Linked DNA regions of Homo sapiens: regions 1 and 3 are each linked to region 2. Evidence: promoter capture Hi-C in 16 types of primary human blood cells and fetal thymus (Javierre and others, 2016). All regions are on one chromosome and are shown on one strand. Each heading gives the region's core, a stretch centred on a gene start or on the middle of the fragment in contact. The rest is flanking DNA. Distances are from core to core; before and after follow the strand shown. Region 1 overlaps MTA3 (metastasis associated 1 family member 3). Region 2 holds the start of EML4 (EMAP like 4). Region 3 holds the start of TRI-TAT2-1 (tRNA-Ile (anticodon TAT) 2-1).

Region 1 (3,540 bases), core at 154-2,653, 530 kb after region 2:
GCCACTGCACTTCAGCCTGGGCAACAAAGTGACAGTCTATCTCAAAAAAAAAAAAAAAAAAAAAAAAAAAGAAAGTGGTGGTTTTTAAGGAAAGTACTTTCTATAGTAGCTTATTTTCATCTCATTTTATTATATGTTAACATAGATGATAGGTTGATTTTTTTTTTTTTCAGCTTCCTTGGAAATCATTGACTAGCATCATTGAATATTATTACATGTGGAAAACTACTGACAGATATGTGCAACAGGTAATTTTTTTCATATTGCTACCAATATGGTTGCATTTAAGTGAACTTTCTGTTTATATTTTAATATTTTTTGGCGATGTACTACTTTTAAATTTGTTTACCTTACTTTTTCCAGACTACTTTAAACTACATGATTTCATATCTTTAGGATATTATTTAAGATTTTAATCTTAATATTTCCTTGACTTCGCATGAATTATGATAAATATTTTGGAGAGATACCACTAGAGAGGCATTATTTTCCTTGCATTTGACTGATCCTTCATCTCTTTGTAGTTCATGGCAATGATCAAAGATGTGATGCTAACACAAACCTCTTGAACAAGTTATTTTTATGAAGAATTGAGTATTTAGACCAATGTCATCAGCCATATAATTTGATATGTTTTTAAAGATCTTCTGAAACCTCTTTACATGACATTTGTGTGGCTATACCCCCGAAATCCTTGACCTTAAATGTAGTAGTCTTACTAGTATGGTGTTTTTGTACTGTACATAAGCTTTTTCTTAAATGTAATTTTTGAGTCCTTCTCAAATATCCTAAATTCAGGTAACTCTCAATTACTTATTTTTTGAATAATATTACCTCTGGGGAAAGGCACATTTTCCTGAAATGACATCGGTCAATACTTGTGTTATGTTTGTATAGGCACATATTAGAACTGATAAAAAGGCAAATATATTTAACACAGACATTATTTTTCCTATATATGTAGGTTATACAGTGGCAAGTATTAGATGCTATAAAAAAATTTTATGAATCACTTTTTAAAGTATCATAGTGAGCTGGGTATGGTGGTGTGCACCTATATTCCCAGCATTTTGGGAGGCCGAGGCAGGAGGATTGCTCAGCCCAGGAGTTCATGTCCAGCCTGGGCAACATAACAAGACCCTGTCTCTAAAAATAAATAAAAATTGAAAACAAAAAGTACCATGGTGAATTGCTGAGGTCACAAATAGTGAATAGATACTCATGGCTTGTTGAAAAATTTCCAGTGTCAATATTAATATAATTCAAAAAGTGCTTATTATAAACAACTTAGGTATAGATCAAGACCATGTAGTCTGGGAACCTATTTTATTAAAAAAGAGTCTCTAAAGATGGAGATGATGGTATCAAGGATGGTTGAAAAGTAGATAATATTCTTTCCAAAAACTTCAACCCTGTTCTAAAAGTTTCAAGTTGTCCCCCTAAGTATTTCTGTTTTCTCCTCATTGGGAAAATAGAAGATAGCCTTATATTCTGGTTTGTCTTATTTTTGGACATCAACCATATGTTATTTTACTTCTCTATTTGCCTGCATTATCATGTTGGTCAGTGTCTGGATTTGATTATATAATCTCCTTCCCCTTCCTTTCCCTACATATGGCTCCTAATTGGTTCCAGTAGAATATTATGTGAATTCAGCTGAGGTTTAAAGTTTAATGCATATCTCCCAACATTTGAGAATAAATGCTTATTTAGTTCTACTTAGAATAGCCACAGTCACTCCTCTTGCCTGGATTTTGGAAATAAATAATCTCTGAATATTTTTCTAAAAGCAGAGAGAGAGAGAGAGAGTGAGAGTGTGTGTGTTTTCTTCTAGAGAGGCAAATAAGTAATAAAGTAGAAACTAAATTTGGAAAGTAAAAATGGTTACTTTTTAAAGGTCCTGTTTATTCAGTCATAGAGGAATGGAAAATGGAGTTGCTCATTGCTTTATTTTTTTAAACCTATGCCTAAAATTGTATTAATACTTAAAGTTGTGTACCACAGAATCTAGTGACTTTTCTTAGACATTATTGCAGTTTAAGAATATGCATATGAAAGAAAAGCTTAAGATGGTAATTTTTGAATTACACTTTAATACGTATTTTCTTGTGAATTTTTAAGACAATGAACAGTAGTAATAATTAGGCATTGCATGTAAAATGTTTTATTCATCTTTTGAATTAGAAACGTCTAAAAGCAGCAGAAGCTGAGAGTAAACTGAAACAAGTATATATCCCAACCTAGTAAGTAATTGAAATCTTTTAAAATATTTGTTTTGGTCTTAATTTTATCATTGCAGAATATGTCATTTTGTTCAGTTTCAGCAAAATTTGAACTTTTGTGTATCTTTCTTCTTCTACAAAGCATGAGACTTACTATTATACCACTACAATAAAAAGGAGCCAGTGAGAGAAACCTCAAATAGACTAACCTGAAGACTAGAGGAAGAAATGTACTATGTACTATACTTTTATTAAATCAAAGCTGCAGGGAAAGCGTCAGAAAACCTATGAAATGCTGTATTATTTGAAGCAAATGTGTTTCAGAAAGCTAGCAGCTTTTCAAACTATAGATTTTGTTTGGGTAATGCATACTGCTCTTTGGAGGTTTGTTGTTTATTTGGTTGAGGATTTTACATTGTTTTCTTGGTTCCAATGGCAATTAGAACCATATTTGGTAAATGTGTGATAAATAATGGAGAGGTTTTGATTATTTTGTTTGTCTAGTGTTCTATCATTATTATCCTTTGAATTCAGAAATCATTGTCATCTCAAAATGAATGCCAATTTTTTTTTTTTTTCCATTTGCTTTGTTTTAAATGAGGCTGAGCATGGTAGTTCACGCCTATAATCCCAGCACTTTGGGGAACCTCGTTTCTGCAAAAAATTTAAAAGAAATATAAGGTACTATATCCTTTTGTTGAGATTTTCAGAGTTTGCTTATTCATTTGTTCAGGAAGAATTGGTTTATTAAGCACCACGTGTATATTGTTCTATCCTAGTTTCTTTTAGGATTAAAATGAAATTTATTGCAGAGTTCTGTGTGCTGCTCTAAGCCTTTTCTCCCTCTTCAACCTATTTACAGTTGTTTAATAACTAGCCTTTTGTTTCTGGAATTTTGATATTTTGTATAATACATGTTTTTATATACATAGAGGAGGCCTCATAGACAATGAGTTCTGATCTTTCATATTGATCTTTTACCACAAGACAGATAACTCTGGTTTAATTTTAAGAACATGTAATTTTTACAGAGTCTGTAATTTTTATTAAGAACTGTAATAGCCCATCTGCAGAGTGGTTTCTAATTCCTTCTAAATTATATGTTTTATATGATGAATTTATAAAAGAGCCACTTCTCAAATAAAATACTGTTGCAACTCATGTGTCTTAGATTTTCAAAAGCAAGCATACCAGCTTTCTTATACTTCAAAGTGCTGCCACCATGAAATAATACATTTGGCTAGTTTTGACCAAGTAACCCAGATAATTGTTTCCATTTGGCTTTACGCTGACTTTGGAGTCAATGTAATCTAAGTCA
Region 2 (3,417 bases), core at 779-3,278:
CATCCTCTCAAAAACTCTAAGAAGTAGAAGTGTTATCATCTCCATTTTGCAGTCAATAAAATGGAGGCACAGAGAGGTTAGGTAATTTGTCCAGTGTTTCATAGCTAGTACATGATGAGTTGGGATGTGAATCTGGGCAGCATGATTCCAGAGTCTGCACTCTTAACTGCTGGGATGTACTAACTCTCCTACATTTTAACAGCTTTCCTTGTAGTATACAGTATAATGAATGAGATGCTTATTGAATAAATCATTCAAGCAAATGAAAAATTTTAACTCTGATGAATGCCACGAAGGGGAGTGTGGCAGAAACCAGAGAGCTGTTACCAAAATATGTCTCTTTTCCTTCTGGATACACAGACTACATTCCTAGCCTCCCTTGCAGTCATGTGACCAAGTTCTGGCCAGTGGAATGTGGACAAAAGGGAGGTACACACTTCCAGGTCTGGACCATAAAACATATGTATACCAATATGCCAAGTTCTTATTCTTTTAATCGACCTAAGGCAGAGAGTGTGGCCTGAAGACACAAAGGAACAGCTGTCAGAATTGAGAACTTCTCAAACATTTACTTAGGCTTAATAGAAACTTATGCATATGAAAATGCCCATAGCAGAAGGAACATTGGGTAAATCATTTAAGTTTGAAGAGAAGGAAATTTTAGACACCGTTTAGTCTGTAACCTGAATTTATCTTGGCTGCGTTATGGCCAGTCTCCATATAGTATGGTATTCAGAAACAGGTCTTATATCCAAATAAGAAATGCAAAGTAATTTACATTTTTAGGGAAGATTTTTAAAGAGGCAACAAAGGGAGACGTATACCCCAAGAAGGTTTAACAATCCTTTCAATCATTTAATTCCTCTAAGTCTCTCTCATCATTACATATTTCTTGTCTCCCTTCTTGTTTGTCCCTCTCTCCTGCAACTCTGTGTAGTAGGACTCTGTTTTCCCCTAACTCAGCTTTTTATTATGTATTTATCAATTTATTATGTATAGATCAATTCAGTTCTTCAGTACCTTACAGCTCTTCTCTCTCTTACTCTAATCTGCACAACTGAGCCCCAGGAGGGACTTGACAAACCATGAGAAAGTCTTTAGAAGTATGGGAAATCGTGTTGGGGAAGGGAGGAAGAATATGAACGCTATGTATATTTACATGTTTTGGTTACATGTCCAGACAACCAATTTGCAAATGAATAAAGTGACGCCTAAATAAATTAGGTGATTTGACACTCTTGAGTCATACGGAGTTGGGCCTAGAACTCAGTGTTACTTCATTTGAAATAACCCTTATTATGGTTCCCTAGCAGGCCATCCTATAGCCTGCCATATATGGTCGTTTTGCACCCCTAGACGACAGAACGCTAGGGAGAGTAAGGAAGGCTGAGTTTTTGCTTCTACTAGGTTCGATGACCTTGGGCAGGTTGTCCTCTCTAAGGCTCTGTGTTTTTCTTCATAAGAAGGGTTAGACAAGATGAACTTTTGGGTCATGTCCAGCACTAAAATTCCTTGCTTCTGATCTGTCCCGGGCCCTGCGGCTGTGGCAGTGGTGGTATCGAGCTAGTCAAGAAGCTTCGCCCCTATTTGTCCCCCACCCTATTGGGGGAGAGGGAGAACCTCTCCCTCTTGGTTGCTTCTTTAGTGTCCTTGTAGGACCCACGTGGTGGTCATCTCCCGTCACGGGGGTCCAGTCTTGGCTCTGCGGGCTTCCCAGGGGCCACATAGGGAGAGGATCCTTCATGCATCAGAGTATCGCAGGCCAGAGTCTATGCCTTATCCCCACCTGTTTGGAACCAGCTTCCAAACCGTGGTCCCCAGCCTTCAGCAGGCCTACCGCGCAGGCGCAACCACCAGCCTGGCGCGAGGCGGACAAACGCCGAGGCCGAGGCAAGGTGAGAGGGCGGGGCTGGCAAGACCCCGCCTCCGTGGCGTCACGTGGGAGGCGGAGTCGGAAGTGTGACGGCGTGCGCGGGGCGGGGCTACTGCTGCGCGCGGGCGCGGGGGCGGGGCGGGGCGCGGCGCGGCGCGGCGCTCGCGGCTGCTGCCTGGGAGGGAGGCCGGGCAGGCGGCTGAGCGGCGCGGCTCTCAACGTGACGGGGAAGTGGTTCGGGCGGCCGCGGCTTACTACCCCAGGGCGAACGGACGGACGACGGAGGCGGGAGCCGGTAGCCGAGCCGGGCGACCTAGAGAACGAGCGGGTCAGGCTCAGCGTCGGCCACTCTGTCGGTCCGCTGAATGAAGTGCCCGCCCCTCTAAGCCCGGAGCCCGGCGCTTTCCCCGCAAGATGGACGGTTTCGCCGGCAGTCTCGGTGAGTACGGCTGGGGAGTCCTGCGTCTTCTGCGAAGGGTAGGAACTTTTTTCCTTCCGCACACAGCCCAGGCCCTGCCCTCCCGCCTGCCCCTCGGGGTGGCAGCGGCTCCACTGCACATGTTCCCTTCGAGGCTGCCGCCCCTCCGCGGACTCCGGTGGACTGAGGGCCCCTCCCCCATGTCCAACTCTCCTCTGTGTCAGACCCTCCTTTCCTCCCGGAGCCCCTTTCAGTGCGGGGCCCTCGTTCCCCCAAAGTGGGAACCCCTTCCTTCTCAGGCCCCCCGATAGCTGGCACACCCCTCCCCGTACACTCACGGCTCCCTCCACTTACCCCCCTTCAGAGTTGGGACATTTCTTCAAATCCAGGCTCCTCTTCAGGGTACAACCTTCCACCACCTTTCCACATACACGCCTCTCTTTCAGGGTGGGGATCGCCTTCACCCGAACAGAGGCTCCTTTTTAGGGGAGGGACCCTCATTCCCTCTTCAGGAAGGGGGCATCCCCCGCCCCCAAGTCTTCACTTTAGATTTGAAGGCGACTTTCCAGTATCCTTCAGAGTAGTAGGCAACTTCCTTTTCAATCCCTCCACTTCTCTGAGCATTTTGCAGTGGTGGAGAGACCTAGAAGCATCGGAGCATCATTTGCTTAATGCAGGAAAGGAAGAGGTGCATCTGTGTTGGGGGACCCTCTTTAAGAGTGAAAGCAGAAGTGTTTTCTGGTTCTGCATACATGCTGGGGAGAAGTGATTCTGCCCAATGAATCAATAGGAAAGGGGGCCTCTATCAGGGAAGGAAAGGATTCTCCATTTTTGGAAGATGTTGTCTTTGTGGAATGGAGAAAGGGAAGAGGTTATTAAATAGGCTGAAGTGCCTTTTCAGTGTTCCTTTCACCAGATGAAGGTAATCTTCTGGCTAGGAAAATCAAAACTCCAGGCTAGTATTCGCTGCCCTAGAAGCTGAATCTGGAATTACTATTCTTCGAGGCCATTGAAATCTAGTAAAAGATTAAGTTCAACTGTTAGAATGGTGAGAGAAACAGTTTCAGCTTTGGCTGATAACGCAGTTGTGTGATACCTACTGCTGGAACTGTATTTTGAGTTTTTT
Region 3 (3,883 bases), core at 1,264-3,763, 640 kb after region 2:
CTCCGGGACGCGAAGCCCATAGAGGGGGTTTTCCGGCCGCAGGCGCTGGGGCCGCTCCTCCTACGGCGAGGCCCGGGGCTGCGCGCTGCGCTCTTTGCAGGGCCCCCGTGGCCCTCCCGTCACGGCCAGGCTAGGCGGCCCCTCCATCCCCGAGGGCGACACTCGCAGGCTTCCCCGGCTCGATCGGCTGCGGAACAGCCGGGAGCTCGGCGCGAAGTCGCAGAAGGCTCGGGCCTGGGCTCGCGCCGCGAACGCGCATGCTCTGCCGAGGCCCGCCGCGGGCGCCAGCGCACCCTGATAGAGCCATCACGAGGCCCATTCAGCAGAGCTCCAGTGGCGCAATCGGTTAGCGCGCGGTACTTATACAGCAGTACATGCAGAGCAATGCCGAGGTTGTGAGTTCGAGCCTCACCTGGAGCAAGACCCTTTTGGATGTTCGCAACCCCTTTTGTGTATCTCGTTGCCAGAAGTAAGGAGTCTCTCTTTAGTCTTCTCCCTTCTTGTTTCTAACTGCTCTGCCGCACGTCCCCATTGGCCGCAAGCAGGAAGCAGCTCGCAGTGGACTCTCAATACCCCTTTTCCGAGCTACTTGTTGCCACCGCGCGACATCCAGCCGCTCGAACTCGGACATCCACCCACTGCGTCCTTCTAGTGCTCTTCTTAGGCGGGTCCTGTAACTGCACCTAGTCCCGGACCACAGGAGGGCGGATGGAGGTGGCGAGGCGCTCCACTGTGGCGGGGTCCCTAGCTGGCCGTGGGGATCGAATATTCTACAGGGCACTTCATTCTACAGTGTGAGCCCGAGCTCCCGGTGCGGAGATGAGGCCTGGGGCCGGGCCGCTGCCCCTCGCCCCCGGGCGGGGCCCAAGCACCGCCGACCATTCCCAGGCGTTGGGGCCCGAGGCCTAGCGCGGGGCGTCCGGGGAGCTGTGGGGAGACCTGGGGCGGCTGTTTTCCGCCCTTGTAACTCGTGATGAGTTCTTCCCCCTCGCTTCTGTCTGCAGAGACCAATAAGACTGCGGGCCCTTCTCCTCAACCCAGGCGCCCAGCCGTCCCTGGGCAGATTTGCAGTTTGGGGAATGTGCTCGGAGAGTTCCCCTCCCCATCATGTGCCCCTTCTCCTAGCGGCACGTCACAAATCCTGGTTCAGAAGTCCTCCCGGGGGCCGGGAAATCAGGCCAAGTGGTCGCCGGCGGATGCGCCCTGCCCCACATCGCCAGGGGGGGTAGGCAAAGCGGGCACAAGCTTAGTTAAGGGATGGAAAGCCTCCTGGACGTGTTCTTTCAAAGGGGAGATTTTCAGCTGTTTTCATGGACGGGATCGTTGCTAGATTTTGGGTGGAAATATTACCCCGCGAGTGGTGAAAATCAAGACCTAGAACGTTCAGAGAAATGGATGGAGGGCGGAGCTCTTGTCTATCTCCTGCGCTAGCCCAGGCTTCGGTTGCTCTCACCCATCCAGCCCCTCGATGCAGAACAGGAACCCTATGCCAACTGGAATGTGGGAAGGGCCGCCCACTTCCCCTCGTCCTGGTGCCGGGTTCCTCGCCAGCCCCGGGGAGGTCGCCTCTGGCTCACAGACATCCTCAGAGGCATGGGATAGGTCCCCTGTAGAAATGCAGCCCAGGCTTAGAAACAAATAAAATCTCTATCCATTAAAAAAGAATAATAATAATAATAAAAAAATAGGCGCGGTGGCTCACGCCTGTAATCCCGGCTTGGGAGGCTAAGGTCGGCGGATTTTTTTTTTTTTTTAATCACCCAGGAGTTTAAGACCAGCCTGGCCATCAGGGCGAAACCCCGTATCTACTAAAAATACAAAAATTAGCCGGGTGTGGTGGCGCATACCTGTAATCCCAGCTACTCGGGAGGCTGAGGTGAGAGGATCTCTTGGATTCGAGAGGCCGAGGTTGTAGTGAGCTGAGATGGCACCACTGCTCCAGCCTGGGCCAGACCTGTCTAAAAAAACAAAACAAAACAAAACAAAACAAAAAAAACTTGCGGCTGAGCGTGGTGGCTCACGCCTGTAATCCCAGCACTTTGGGAGGCCAAGGCGGGCGGATCACGAGGTCAGGAGACCATCCTGGCTAGCACTGTGAAACCCCGCCTCTACTAAAAATACAAAAAATTAGCCGGCTGTGGTGGCGTGCGCCTGTAATCCCAGCTACTCGGGAGGCTGAGGCAGGAGAATTGCTTGAACCTGGGAGGCGGAAATTGCAGTGAGCCGAGATCGCGCCACTGCACTCCAGCCTGGGCGACACAGCGAGACTCCGTCTCAAAAAAAAAAAAAAAAAAAAAAAAAAAGTATGCTTACTTTCTATAAAAAAAAAAACAAAAAACCCAACAGCTTTAATGGGATATAATTCCTATACCATACAACTCGCCCATTTTACAGTGTACAATGGATTTTAGTATATTCACAGATAAGTACAATCATCACCACAGTAAATTTTCAAACATTTTCATCACCTCAAGACTAGTTCTCACCCTCTCATCTTCCCATCCTGTTCCCCCACCAGCCCTAAGCAACCACAAATCCACTTTTTGTCTCTGTAGATTTCCCTAGTCTGGACTTTCCTACGAATGGAATTATACAGCATGTGGTCTTTTGTAATTGGCTTTTTCACTTTATAATGTTTTCAATATTCATCCATATTGTACCATATATCAGTGCTTCATTTCTTTTTATGACTGTATGACAGTCCATTGTATGGATTCTTTCCATTTTTGAATAATGGAGAAAGGGTTGGCATTTTCAAAAGGAAATTTGCCAAAAACTGCTTTGTAAGAGGTGATTAATTTTAAAATGCACAAACAGAAAAGTGATCAGACTCAGAAAGTGCAGGTTTCTAATCTTCACAGGTAACTCACTGACCACCAGGAGTCTCTTAGGTACTTCTGAGAGCTGAGCTCAAAGCAAGATCCCAAACAGACAACAATAAATGAATGAGAGATCATTCTGTCAACCTCCTATCCACAGAGAAATCCTTTCCACAAAACCCTAGCTCCTATTTGAAAACTGCTAGCATCAGAATTTCAGTTCCTCTCAAGGCAACTTATTCCATTTTCCAACAACTCTTATGGTTAGAACATTCTTCAATATTGTTTCTGTCCCTACTGGTTACTGCTGGAATGGCAGTGGCTTTAGGAACTGTTTTCCTGATAAGATGGTAGGGTTGGAAGGAAGCTAAACTAGTTCTTCTTTCCTTAATTTAGAAATCTTCAGCTACGAAATTATTGATTAGGCCATAAACAACAAACATACTCTGAGCCTATTTGTGGCCCAGTGTCTTAAAGTGATGTTGATAGAATTTTTTAAGGTTGTGGTGGGTGATAAAAATCAAGTGAGGCAGGGCATGGTGGCTCACACCGTAATTCCAACACTTTGGGAGGCTGAGGCAGAAGGATTGTTTGAGCCCAGGAGTTCCAGACCAGCCTGGGCAACATGGTGAAACCCTGTCTCTACAAAAAATACAAAAATTAACCCAGTGTGATGAGGCACGCCTGTAGTCTCAGCTACTTGGGAGGCTGAGGTGGGAGGCTCACCTGAGCCCAAGAGGTCGAGGCAGCAGTGAGCTGAGATTGCACCACTGCACTCCAGCCTGAGTGACTCTGTCTCAATTAAAAAAAAAAAAATCAAGTCAGAATATGGGAAAATGCTTTAAAAACCACAAAGTATTATGACATTTTTATTAGCATCAGACCACTGGCTTAGGCCTGACTATACTGTGTAGTGGCTTCAAGAAGGAAGTGGGTAAGTATGAAGTGACCAAACTGCGAAGGAAGCTTGAAGTGACAACTGAACAACCCCAGGCCCCAGCAGGAGAGAAACCTGATGTAACCCAGGCTGACCTTGGCTTTGTAGAATGCTTGGATGAAGAAGG

Evidence for each region. The method cuts DNA at HindIII sites, captures the fragments that hold promoters and counts their contacts. A CHiCAGO score of 5 or more calls a contact.
Region 1: a contact is called between a fragment that was not itself captured here and the fragment with the promoter of EML4 in region 2, in 1 of 17 cell types (fetal thymus). The highest score is 5.7, in fetal thymus.
Region 3: a contact is called between a fragment that was not itself captured here and the fragment with the promoter of EML4 in region 2, in 4 of 17 cell types (naive CD8 T cells, naive CD4 T cells, non-activated CD4 T cells and 1 more). The highest score is 8.9, in naive CD8 T cells.

What each region holds. Positions count from the first base shown.
Region 1 is chr2:42,695,592-42,699,131 of GRCh38, forward strand. It overlaps MTA3 (metastasis associated 1 family member 3), which reads left to right. Exons shown (of 17, transcript NM_001330442.2): 10 at 174-248; 11 at 2,185-2,243. Among named protein-coding and RNA genes, the nearest start is that of OXER1, 67 kb to the right of the region's middle. The HindIII fragment of the contact is 1,315 bases long and covers 747-2,061 here.
Region 2 is chr2:42,167,325-42,170,741 of GRCh38, forward strand. It overlaps EML4 (EMAP like 4), which reads left to right and starts at 2,029. Exons shown (of 23, transcript NM_019063.5): 1 at 2,029-2,312. The coding sequence starts at 2,288. EML4-AS1 (EML4 antisense RNA 1) reads right to left here and starts at 2,907. Exons shown (of 4, transcript NR_110584.1): 1 at 2,646-2,907. RefSeq lists enhancers at 1,611-1,750, 1,763-2,415 and silencers at 1,831-1,880, 1,981-2,040. The HindIII fragment of the contact is 2,496 bases long and covers 1,574-3,417 here.
Region 3 is chr2:42,810,209-42,814,091 of GRCh38, forward strand. It overlaps TRI-TAT2-1 (tRNA-Ile (anticodon TAT) 2-1), which reads left to right and starts at 328; the gene lies at 328-420. RefSeq lists silencers at 1-401, 692-981 and enhancers at 1,062-1,161, 1,192-1,271. The HindIII fragment of the contact is 2,540 bases long and covers 1,244-3,783 here.